Regions from separate parts of the Homo sapiens genome. Here all the other regions are linked to region 2. The links are contacts of gene promoters, found by promoter capture Hi-C in human tissues and cell types (Jung and others, 2019). All regions are on one chromosome and are shown on one strand. The core of a region is centred on a gene start or on the middle of the fragment in contact, and the rest is flanking DNA. Distances in the headings are between cores, read along the strand shown.

Region 1 (4,080 bases), core at 17-2,516, 33 kb after region 2:
GGATGGTCACAGGACACACAGAGCAGGGGGACTGACAGGGGAGCTCCGGGAGAGTGGCAGGTGTGGAGGAGGAGATAGGACAGCTGGACCTGAGCCATGCTGGGGGAGATGTTTCAGAGGCAGCTGAATCAGGAGTTAACTGCTGCCAGGGTGGAGAATTGGATGAGGGTTCCCAAAGCAACAATGACAGGGATGTGGGGACAGAAGAGATCTCTAAATAAAAGAACAGGGGGAAATTCTTTTGTTGTAAAAGCCAACTCCATCTACTCACCATGCAGGTATGGTGAGACAAGTCAGTCATCTCAGATCAACCCACCCAGCATCCAGGTCCTATCCACCAATCTGAGAACAGGGCACAGGGAGGCTGCCAGGGCCCTGTCACATGGGGTGGCACCTCCACATGCCCCCGAACAGGTTGGTTTTCCTGTGACTTGAGTTGTTTTTTTTTAATTGCGTCAAACCTGCTCTCATGGGAAGAAAGGTCAGAATGATGAACTTAGCATAGCATTTTGTTTCACTTTTAAGAAATGTGGGAAGAGGTGACTGTCAACTCCTATCAGGCCTCTGCCTGATAGCTCAAAGGCACCTGCAGGCCCAGTCCCGTGTAACTGCACCCACACCACTGAGAATAATCATCCAAAACATAAGTCACACTGTCAAAGCCTCAGAAAACTTTTTGAATTCTGCAGGAAAACAAGTACTTAAAGTTCAATAACAGGTTGGGTACAGAGGCTCACACCTGTAATCCCAGAACTTTGGGAAGCCAAGGTGGGAGTATCACCTGAGGCCAGGAGCTTGAGACCAGCCTGGGCAACATAACAAGGCCCCATTCCTATAAAAAAATATATATATATATAATATCAGCTAGGCACAATGGCACGCATCTTTAGTCCCAGCTACTCAGAAGGCTGAGGCGGGAGGACCACTTGAGCCTAGGAGGTGGAGGCTACAGTGAACTATGATCATGCCATTGCATTACAGCCTGGGTAACAGAGTGAGACCCTGTCTTTAAAAAAAAAAAAAAAATAGGCCAGGCGCAGTGGCTCACACCTGTAATCGCAACACTTTGGAAGGCTGAGGTGGATCACTTGAGGCCAGGGGTTCAAGACTAGCCTAAGCAACAAAGCAAGCCTCTATCTCTATAAAAATAATTTAAAAATTAGCCAGGTGTAGTGGCACATGCCTATAGGTCCTAGCTATTTGGGAGGCTGAGGCAGAAGGATTGCTGGAGCCCAGGAGGTTGAGGCTGCAGTGAGCTGTGATCGTGCCACTGCACTCCAGCCTGGGCAAGAGAGAGAGAGCTTGTCTCCAATAAATTGAATGAGTGGATGGATGGATGGGTGGATGGATGGATGGATGGATGGATGGATGGATGCATGCATGGATGGATGGATGGATGGATGGATGCCTGCCACCATGGATGGATGCATGCATGGATGGATGGATAGATGGATGGATGGATGGATGGATGGATGGATGGATGGATGGATGCATGCATGCATGGATGGATGGATGGATGCGTGCATGCATGGATGGATGGATGGATGGACAGACAAATAGATAGATAAAGTTCAGTAACAAAACACATAAGTTTTCAAGAGACTGAAGTGGCCCAGTGAGGGGACAGGCAGGAAGGGCCCTGGCAGCAATGCTGGTGGATGCTCCCCATTGCCAGACCCCAGAGCACACAGGACGTCCACATGCAGCCTCGGGTCAGCCTACCTGCTTATGTGCAGGATGCTTTCAATGACAGGGAGACTCAGACAGTGGGGAAACAACCAGCAATAGAGAAGAGGGCAAAGGCAGAGGCCTGGGGTGTCTAGAGCGGCTCTGCTTGAGCTCCAGGAACAACTCCAGAGTCTTCCCCACTTCATGGCCTTCGTCACTGCTTGGTCTCCTCACATTCCTGACCCATCTTCAAGCCAATGCTAGTGCCCGGCAGGCATCATGGGCATCTCAGGGAACCCCACCTGGGTGTGGGTCTGCCTTGCTAGATGAGACATGCCTCACCTGAAGCTGGCAGGCAGCCACCAGTGTCTCTTGTACATTGCTCAGGCTGAGCTCCAGCTCGGAGGTGTATATGAAATGTAGGATTTGGCACATAGCATTGTAGGACACACCGTGGATCAGGACCTCTTCCTGTTCCATCTCCTTCAATCCCCCAGCAAACATTCCTCTGCAAAGTGAAGACACAAGAAAATGGAGTTATACCAACAGGGACTTAAGCCCATGTTGCCAAGAGTGACAGCATTCAGAGAAGAACCTGGCGCTGGTGGCAGGGCCCTGGTAGTGGGCTGACCCACTCTGTGCTCTGAGTGAACTGTGTGCATGCATGAGCCATCCCACAAAAGGATCCTGACGAAGTCTGGGCAGCCATCCTGGAAATTGTCCTGTTTCCCTTTTCATGGGCCCAAGGAGTCCCATGTGAGCTTCGGGAGGTGAGGCCACAAGCAGCTTGCTTCTGCTGTGTTCATCAGTGCAGTTCCTGGATCGGAGCAGTAGCAACTCCAGAGCACATTTCAAAGCAATGAATTAATTAATGGGAAACTAATAAAAGTCATTTCATTCAATGTATATTTATGGAGTTCCTACCAAATGCCAAGTATCATTCAAAGAGCAGAAGGAGGCCAGGCACGGTGACTCACACCTGTAATCCCAGCACTTTGGGAGGCCAAGGCAGGCAAATCACTTCAGGTCAGGAATTCGAGACCAGCCTGGCCCACATGGTGAAACCGCGTCTCTACTAAAAATACAAATATTAGCCGGGCATGATGTTGTGCATCTGTAGTCCCAGCTACTTTGGTGGCTGCGGCACAAGAATTGATTGAACCTGGGAGACGGAGGGTGCCATGAGCCAAGATTGCACCACTGCACTCCAGCCTGGGCAACAAAGCAAGACTGTCTCAAAAAGCAAAACAAAACAAAAAACAAAGAGCAAAAGGAGTTATAGTGAAGTAAACTGGTAAAATAGCTGGGCGCGGTGGCTCACGCCTCTAATCCCAACCCTCTGGGAGGCCAAGGCAGGCAGATCCCTTGAGCCTAGGAGTTCAAGACCAGCCTAGGCAACACGGTGAAATCCTGTCTCTACAAAAATTACAAAAATTGGCCGGGCGTGGTGGCTCACGCCTATAATCTCAGCACTTTGGGAGGGCAAGGCGGGCAGATCACCTGAGGTCAGGAGTTCAAGACCAGCCTGGCCAACATGGTGAAACCCCGTCTCTACTAAAAATACAAAAATTAGCTGGGTGTGGTGGCGGGCGCCTATCATCCCAGCTACTCAGGAGGCTGAGGCAGGAGAATCGCTTGAACCCGGGAGGCGGAGGTTGCAGTGAGCCGAGATCACACCACTGCGATCCAGCCTGGGTGACACAGCAAGACTCTGTCTCAAAAAACATATATACATATATAAATAAATGCTAAGAAGGAACCCAGCAGGGCATCTGACCTGAGAGTCACTGGTTAGAAGAGGGGTAGGTGGAATGATGAGAAGGAGCAGGGAAAGCCCCATCTGAGGAACTGAGACCTAAGGATAAGGCTGAGAGGGTGTAGGCAGCCGGGGAGGGAGTTCCAGGTGAAGGAGACAGGTGTACAAGTTCTGGGGCAAGGCAGAGCTTGGCATGCAAGGCAGCCAAGATGATGACGAAGTGAGCAGAAAGTGGGATGGGCAGGCAGGCCTTGGAGCCAGGTCCCCCTACCTCTAGGGTAGGTACAGTCCAGATTGAAATCTGAGCATTATGGGATGCTCTTGAGGAATTTACCCACAGAGTGATGTGAACTGACTGGCTTTCCGACTCAGGTGCTGGAGGAGGAGCCCCTGGAAGACCAATTAGGCCTGAGATTCCTGTGGGCCTGGAGGCCAAGGGTGACCCTGGCCCTGGGGAGGGCATTGCAGCTAGAAAGCAGTAGCTGAGACTACCCTGGGACACGGCACAGAGAACCTACTGACAGACTGAATCTAGGAGGACCTGGGAGGACTCAAGGCCCTCTGCTGGGCCGAAGAGGACCCTTTACTGATGGAAGAAAATCTGGACAGCTGGGAGTCCCGTGATTGTGTGATCAGTGTGAGATACCTGTGAAACC
Region 2 (4,107 bases), core at 290-2,789:
CCGGACCCCCATTCCTGGTCCCGGGCCTGTCTGGGAAAGAGGGCTGGAGTGAGTAGACAGAGACCACGGCGATCGCGCCCTCCCCCTCTCCAGGCACCGCCCCGCCCGCCGCCGCCGCTGCATTCCTGGGGCCGGGGAGGCCCGGGAGTCCGCGGCGGCGGCATCGATGCGAAGCAGATGGCGGGCCAGGCCGGCCCCCGCCCCGGAGGCGGGGCTCGCAGCGGGGAGGGGTCTGCGCGCCTCCGGACCAGAGTTCGGAAACCCCGCGCTGCCCCCTCGCAGCCCCTTGTCTCTGGCGCCGAGCCCCTGGACTCGGCTTGCCCCGGGTCCGTGGCTCAGGCGCCCCGACGCGACCCAGCTCGGAGCCCGGCGGCCGCCTCTGCGGCTGCCAGCCCGTGCGGCGTCTCCAATCCGCGCCAAGGCGCCCCCACACGCCCGCTCCTCACCCCTGCGTGGAGATGCCCTTGACCTTGTGGCCTTTGGCCAGCCCACCGGCTCCCCCGACCCCAGCTCCTAACTCCTGGCGTCCGGGGCTCACCTCTCTGCCCTCCGTGCAAACTCCCGGACTCGCCCCCCCACCGGCCGGGCCTGTCGCCTGCCTGTCCCACACTGGCTTCCCCAGCCGGCGCCCCACATTTGCGCGGCCCCTTCTTGCACCCAGAATCCCCACCTGGTTGTCGCCAGGGTTCCCACATCCTCCGGTCCCCTGTGCCTGTCATAGTCCTTCCGCCTCCCGCTTCTGGTCCACTTCGAGCGCCGGCTCCTCGACGCTCGCCTGGGTCACCACCCTCCCACCCGCGCCCGCTCTAAGACGCGAATCTGTCTTTCCAAGTCTGGCTTGCTCCAGGACCTCCCCGGCTAGCACCGCTCCTCCTCCCCTGACCTTCCTCCTCACTCCCACTCCCGGCTCCAGTCGGACTAGTGCGGGGCTTTAGCACATGCAGTTCCTTTGGCTTGAATGCCCTTCCCCAGCTTTTCCCCGTGGACTTCACAACTCGGTCAAGGGTCCCTTTTTCCAGGTCTTTCCTGATATCCCGGACAACGCGTGTCATCCCCTGGGTGCCCACGGCACTCCATCCTCCCCTCAGGTGACTTCTCGTCCAGGGTTCCCTGGGATGCACTGTCGTGGCCCATGGCCGAGGCTGGGCCTGGAACGGAGCCGCGCTGGCTAGGGAGCCGAAGGGGCCCACACTTGGCGTAGGAAGGTTCCGGTAGCCCCCTCCCAATGCCCGGCGCCGCCACACCACTGCCCAGAGCGTCCCTCTCGCCCCCTCCCCCAGCCAGGCCGGCTCCTACCCGGGAGCACGGCACACGTTGCGGCCGCGAGGGTTCAGTTCCTGAGGCGCCACGGTGTCCGGCAGCATCCAGAGCAGCAGCAGCAGCAGCAGCGACGGCAGCAGCGGTGACGGCGGCCCCCCGGCTCCCCGGCGCCGCGCCGGCCCGGCCCCCCGGGGCCCTGCGCCCTCCATGAGGCGCGGGGCAGGCGCGGGGCGGGCACGGGCGCGGGTGCGGCCGCAGCGAGAGCGGCCGGAAGCGGAGTGCGAGGCCGGGCGGGGGGCGGCAGGAGGGGCGCCGAGCCGGGCAGGAAATTCCACATCGGCTCCCTGATCCCGGGCCAGCCGCGGCCGGCCAGGCGGCAGCGCCCGCCCCGCGCTCCAGACCCCACCCTCCGGCCTAGCCACCGCCCCTCCGCGCAGCCCCCGCCCCCATTTGGCCGCTCGCAAACTTGGGGGCGAACTTGGAGGAGGCCCGCCGAGCGCTGGTGGAGGGAGGGTCCGCCCGAGGAATCCCCGGTTCCCGCGCCTTTCCCTCCGCTCCCTAGACATCTACCGAAGCAGCCGCCCCTGCGCGCCCACTGCGTAGGCCAGGCCCGGGACGGGAAGGCGGATCGGGGACACGGACGCGACTCCGCAAGCCCACCCCCGCTCCCAGCGCCTCGGAACCGGCCAAGGGAGTGGGGCCCGCAGACAGCCCAGGTCGAGGCCGAAAGCCAACTCCACAGCACCCCACCGCGAAGTCCTTGTAGTGCTGGGGTGTGCGGTCAGCTCCCCCTGCGCACTCCTGCGCACTCAGAGCTCGCAAGGGGCGGACCGAGCAGGATGCTTGAGGCCTGTGGTAGACTCGGTCCGGACCAGAGGCCTGGGGGAAGGGGTCTCCGTAGGGACGGATGGGAGAGATACAGAGGAAGTAGAATGGCCAGGCTGTGGACTGCGGTAGGAAGTAGAGGTAAAGACAGAAGGAGACCCCCGGGATGGAAACCCTGCAGTCCTAGTTGAGGAGTGAAGGGGGCTGGGGGAGCCTGGGCGGTGGATTCTGCTGGCTGTCGGATTTCCAGGAGAGGCTGGGGCTAGAGAGTGGGAACTCCTGCATCAGGTAAGGTGGGTAACAGCACAGAGCAGAAGGAAGGTGTGGGAAGGGAGCAAGACAGAGGGACAGGCCCTAGGGAGCCAGCGGGGAAGCTGGACTTGGACTGGGAGGCAGCAGGGTGCGGGTCCCCGGGGGGCAACTGGGGCAGACCGACTCTGGAAGTTGGGCAGGGAGCACAAATGTCCCGTGTGTAGCCAGGTCCTAGTGAGGATGTTTGTCTTTTGGGGACTTGAGAGCTGGCAGAAGGCCTAAGCAGGGAGCGGGCACCTCCGTTCTTTGGGGAGCAGGCCACATGCGGCCCACAGGCTCACTGAGGGAGGGCAGGCAGACTCTGTCCAGGTGTGGCCAGATAGCCCCGAAGGGTGGGGCTGGAGGAGGGGGCTTGGAGGAGGAGCCACTGAAAGGCCCAAGGCCATGGGCATCACCAGGCTGGCACAGGCAGAGAGTGGGATGGGGAGGAGCAGGCCCCTCACTCAGCCATGCTGGTGCAGGAGGGAGGTGGGGTGGGCTGAAAGAGAAGTGGAACTAGTGTGGACACGAATGCAACTACCTGGGGACAAATAAACAGGCCAACCACTTCTGGGCAGCTCAGCCTGGGCACAGCCCTGACCTCAGCAATGCCCTCCCAGTGCTGGGGCCCCTCCCACGGAGGATCCGGATTGCGGCTCCCAATAGAGGCCAGCAGAGGTCCCAGTGGCTGCAAGGTCTGTCCCAGCCCAGCTCCTGGCTTTAGAGGCACTGACCCCCTGGGCTGGAGGGGACACTCACCTCAGCTGGATGGAGGTCATGAATAGGCATATCAAATTCCATCACCTTTCTCCTTCCCCCAGACCTGTCCAGGGAGGGCACCACCTGGATGGTGCCCCCCAATCCCCCAGGACCTCCTAAATGTCTTAGATCTCTGCCCACCCCTGTCTGCCACCCAGAGTAGTCTTTTTAATCTCACATGTGGCTATCCACCACTGCTCTCAGGATGAGGACCATCCCCAGTCTCACCTCACGACCCGGTACATACATCCCTTGCAGTAGATGGCAACTTTGGGTGTCATGGGCAGAGCCCTCATTTCTCCCAACCACCACTGCACCCCTAGGGGAAGACTGAGAAGTATGGGAGGAATGAAGGATCATCCACATGGCACTAGGATGTAGAAGGAACCCACAGACAATTGACCACCACGCAGGCAAACTGCTGGAGCCCGGAGCCCTGGCCTGCTGGTTTTGGCCAGGATGGCTGCCAGAAGGAAGTGGACTTTGAAGGCTGAGGAGGGTTTTGCATGAAAGCAGGGACCAAGAGCCTAGCCACACTGGAGAGCACAAGTTGGGCTGCCTCAGCTCCGGGGTATCAGGTGTAACCCTTAGAAACCCAGCTTAGCCCCAAGGCTGACAGTGGCAGGGCCAGGCTGCGCCCAACTCCAAGGCACTCTCCACCCCTCCCCAGGCTGTGCAGGACCTCAGTGAGCCCTTCCTGCCCCTGCAGACCAGAGGCCTCCTGCAAACCTGTGGCTGTGGCTGGTGGCTCAGGTGAGATGTTGCCAGCCAGCATGTTGTCAGGACGCACTGGAGAGTGGTGGGGCATGTCTGGTGCTCCTCCTTTCCAGAAACCTCTGAGGTCTGCAGGAGCTATTGCCCTGGCCTGCCAGGTGGTAGCAGAGACACAGGAAGTGCTGGGTCTGAGACCCACAGAGTGGGGTTCCTACTCTGAACCCATGCTCTTGCGCCTCACCCTCAGGAGAAAGGGAG
Region 3 (4,266 bases), core at 90-2,589, 51 kb after region 2:
TCAGCTCCTCTACCCTACCCACTGTCCTGTATGTTATCTTAATGCTTATTAAAGGCCTCAGCTGAATTTCCCTGGTGAACTGAAAGAATTCTGCTGCTCCTGGACACATCTGCACCAAGCCACCACTGGGTCACATTCTCCAAAACTCCTTTTGGAGACAGAAGGCACTTAAACCATACATATTTTGCTTGATAGTTCCTAATTAAAAAAATAGAGAGAGATAAAGAGAAAGAGAGAGAGAGAGAACTACAACTAAGCCTTGAAGACAAAATGATTGAACAGAATCAGAGCTAGAATGGAACACCTCAGGCTTGGAGTCCCATGACAACCTTGCTGGGGACCACGAGTGGCCCTCAGTCCTTCTCAGGCTCATGCCACCTATGTGAAATAAGGGTGGTGACACCCACCTCCTTGAGTGCAGAGCAGTGCAGACAACAGGGCAAATGGTGTATTGATCTGCTATCTGTGTACATAAATTTATTCATTTAAGCCATGGGTATTGTTTGAATATGTGAAAACCATGTCAGGTGCTAGGGATAAGAGACAGATTCCAACCCAGTGGAAAAGACAGATAAGCCAGTGGTTCCTCACACTGTGCCAAGTGCTGGGATGGGGTCACGAAGGAGGCCATAAGAAACCCCAGAGGGGCCACAGAGCTCACTGGGAGGGCCAGAGGCTAACACCTGAGGGATGAGAGGTGTGAGCCAGAAGGTGATGCATACACAGCAATAATTACTGACGGAGGGGAGGAATGGTAAGGGAGGGGAGGAGAGAAAGGAGGAAAGAAAAGAGAAAAGAAAAGAGAGAGAAAAGGAAAAGAAAAGGAAGAGAAGAGAGGGAAGAGAAGAGGAGGCAAAGCCCAAGAAACAGGATCACTGAATGAAAAATGAACTCTAAGACCCCCTTCTGTCTCTCACACTTGTTGACTAAGTCATAGCCACAAGGAGTAGGGGAGGCTCTGAGGTGAGCAGGAGACCAGCCACTGTCACCGCCAGTACCTTTACTAGCAGAGCCAGGATTACCTTTGTTATTCTTCTTACAAACAGCTCTAGTGAACTCACCTGAAGTAATCGCAGGACGCAGCCAGCAGGATGCGATGGGCCTCGATGTGTCTGCCCTCCACCACCAGCACAACATCGAAGAGGATTCCGCTGTCCCGGAGAGCCAGCAGCCCTCGGAGCAGAGCCTGGGAGTGCTGTGCGCTGCGGTAGGTGTTGTTCACGCAGTGTGGGTGTGAGGGCTGTGCAGGCAACTTGCAGAGCTGGGTGAACTCCTGCTCCTCTGCCATCCTGACAGCCACAAGATCCCTTACAACTGTGGCCTGACAGTTGGCAAAACAGGGGACAGGGGTGAGCAGGCAGGCATCAGCCCCACCACACACAGACTGGCCAGCTCTGTTGCTCCCCTTGCTCCTGTGCCTCCCTCAGGCTCACCTGTTTTCCCTCTATTTCCAAATCCCCTAATTCCTTCTCCCCTCCCACCTCTAGTCCAACTTCCTGATGGCCTTCTTCCTGATGACCTGTGTGCCATCATGCCCAAGACTCTTCATCTCATTGTATCTTCTTCAGCGGCAAAGTCAAACAGAAGGGTTTTGGGAAACAGACTGACCTGGGTTGGAGCCCAACTCCACAGGGACTTACAACATGACCAAACTGAGCCTCGAGCTCCCCAATTTTAAAAAGAGAGATAAAAGTACCTACCCCATTGGGGTATTCTAAAATTGGTAAAACAATGAACATGAAGCATAAGCACACACCAGGTTCTCAAGAGCTCTTCCTCCCTCCCATTGAATGAACAAAATTGGGTTCTTCCTCATAGTAATGGATGCATAAAAATGGCAAGACCTGAGTAGTGGTCAGGAGACACACAGCCAGGAGTCTGGGAGGTGGGTGCCAAGGGGGTGGCATTTCCAGGGCCTACTTTCCTTTACTGAAATTCTGAGAGTCAAGCACAGTAACTGTGATTGAACCTGATGCATTTAAATTCATCTGCATTGCCTTTTAAATTAAAGATTATCTTCTAATAATTGAGTCAGTACGTTCAAAAACCGCAAACTGATTTGAATTGGAGCCTCTAAAACCTAATCAGTAAAATGAACCTACTGCAAATGCACTTTTGCCATGGAGCAACCAAAAGTGACTGTGGATAGCCAGCTGTTCAGGTCAGGGAGTGGCCAGTCCCACACTGTGAGGCATGGCCAAGCTGCAGGCTCTGTAGGCACAGCACAGTCAGCTACAAGATGTGAACATCTGTCTTCTCCACCTCACTTCATCCTACTTTCCTCTCCCCAAAATATGTTTATTCTCCAATTACCTCCAGTCATGCATCACTTAATGTTGGGGATACATTCTGAGACTTATATCGCTGGAGGCAATTTCCTCAGTGTGTGAACATCAAAGGGTACACCTACACAAACCTAGGTGGTAGAGACTACTACACATCTAGGCCATAAGGTACAGCCAATTGCTCCTAAGCTACATACTTGTACAGCATGTTACTGTAGTTCTGAATGAAAAAAACACACTGTTTTTCCTCTCCTCTTATACCACAACAACAAACACAGGAGACTTCTGTGACCAAATGTGTGAGGGTTTTTCCCCATTAACAAGCAAGCAATCAATTCTGCCACAGATACCAGCTGGGTGTCTTCTAATTCAGCAGTCCCCAATCTTTTTGGCACTAGGGACCACTTTCTTGGAAGACAATTTTTCCACGGGGTCGGGGAATGGTTTCGGGATCAAACTGTTCCACCTCAGATTATCAGGCATTAGCTAGATTCTCTTTCGGAGCACACAATCTGGACCCCTCACATGCATGGTTCACAACAGGGTTTGTGCTCCTATGAGAATCTGATGCCACCTCTGATCTGACAGGAGGTGGAGCTCAGGTGGTAATGCTGGATCACCCTCCACTCACCTCCTGTTGTGCCACCTGGTTCCTAACCAGCCACAGACTGATACAGGTCTGAGGCCTGGGGGTTGCGGACCCCTGCTCTAATTCAACTCTAACACTACCTGGAGACAGTGTCTGATCCCACAGGTTGAGGGCTGAGTCTCCCAGGTTGTTTCACCTGTGCTTCTGACCAATAGGCTATAAATTGGGTTCCCAAGATCCCCTTCTTGGGTTCAACTAATTTGTTAGAGCGACTCACAGAACTCAGGAAAATACTCATGTCTACTGGTTTGTTATAAAGGGTATTGCAAAGGATACAGATGAAGAGATGCATGGGGCCAGACATGTGGGAAGTGGTGCAGAGCTTCCAGGCCCTCTCCAGGAACATCACTCTTTAGGAGCCTCCATGTGTTCAACTATCCAGAAGTTTTCCAAACCCAGTCATTCAGAATTTTTATGGAAGCTTCATTATGTAGGCATGACTGATTAAATCACTGGCCATTGGTGATGAACTTAATCTTCAGCCTGTCTCCCCTCTCCGGAGGTTGAGAGGTGAGGCTGAAAGTCCCAACCCTCTTATGCCTGCCTTGGCCTTTCCTGTCACCAGCCCCCATCCTGAAGCTACCTAGGGGCTGCTGGCCAGCATACAAAAAGGCATCACTCTGGAAAGTCCAAAGATTTTAGAAGTTGTATGCCAAGAAATGAGACAAGACCAAATATATATTTCACAATATCACAGTACTGAATACTATAGGCAACTGTAACACAATGGAATTTGTGTATCTAAACACAGACAAGGTACAGTAAAAATATGGGACCACCATCCTTCATGTGGTCTGGTCTGTCATTGACGGAAACATCACTGTGTGGCACATGATTATATATCTTTAAAAGAAAAAATGAAAAATATATGCTGATATAAAACTTGCCAAAAAGAAGAGGTCTCTCTCTTCACTACTGAGGCTCAGGGCCACCCCCAACCCCATCCCCTGGATGCTCTACTGCTTCCCATCAAACACACTCAGTTATCTGTGCCTGCCCCTGAGTCTGCCTCCAGGACCTGGGACCTCTATCCAGCCACCCACCCATTCCTTTCCCCCTCCTGGGCTGGCTCATCTTTCTCACCAAGGCCCCAGAGATGGCCACAGCCAAGGTGTATACCCCATGACCACCTCTCACTTAGGATTCTCTTGCCTGGAAACTCTGCTCTATGATAATTCTCCCTTTTCTGACCTCTCTCTTTCATCCCACACACCCTGCTCGAGCCCATCCTTCTTTCCCAGTGGTTCACATTCCCAGTTTCACCTACAGCTCAGTGCCTAATCTAGCTAGTAGCCCTCCAACTTGTCTAATTTTACTATCAAAGCTACCATT

Evidence for each region. The method cuts DNA at HindIII sites, captures the fragments that hold promoters and counts their contacts. A contact is called where the count stands out against the background at its distance.
Region 1: a contact is called between a fragment that was not itself captured here and the fragment with the promoter of SCARF2 in region 2, in 4 of the 25 tissues and cell types used here (IMR-90 fibroblasts, dorsolateral prefrontal cortex, lymphoblastoid cells and 1 more).
Region 3: a contact is called between a fragment that was not itself captured here and the fragment with the promoter of SCARF2 in region 2, in 6 of the 25 tissues and cell types used here (IMR-90 fibroblasts, dorsolateral prefrontal cortex, liver and 3 more).

What each region holds. Positions count from the first base shown.
Region 1 is chr22:20,469,340-20,473,419 of GRCh38, forward strand. It overlaps KLHL22 (kelch like family member 22), which reads right to left. Exons shown (of 7, transcript NM_032775.4): 3 at 2,011-2,176. LOC124905085 (a long non-coding RNA gene) reads left to right here. Exons shown (of 3, transcript XR_007068014.1): 2 at 3,797-4,080. Among named protein-coding and RNA genes, the nearest start is that of KLHL22, 24 kb to the right of the region's middle. The HindIII fragment of the contact is 6,492 bases long and covers 1-4,080 here.
Region 2 is chr22:20,436,286-20,440,392 of GRCh38, forward strand. It overlaps SCARF2 (scavenger receptor class F member 2), which reads right to left and starts at 1,540. Exons shown (of 11, transcript NM_182895.5): 1 at 1,297-1,540. The coding sequence starts at 1,469. LOC107985588 (a long non-coding RNA gene) reads left to right here and starts at 1,711. Exons shown (of 2, transcript XR_001755623.2): 1 at 1,711-2,226. The HindIII fragment of the contact is 17,878 bases long and covers 1-4,107 here.
Region 3 is chr22:20,487,924-20,492,189 of GRCh38, forward strand. KLHL22 (kelch like family member 22) reads right to left here. Exons shown (of 7, transcript NM_032775.4): 2 at 1,062-1,321. The coding sequence starts at 1,288. Among named protein-coding and RNA genes, the nearest start is that of KLHL22, 5.7 kb to the right of the region's middle. The HindIII fragment of the contact is 7,515 bases long and covers 1-4,266 here.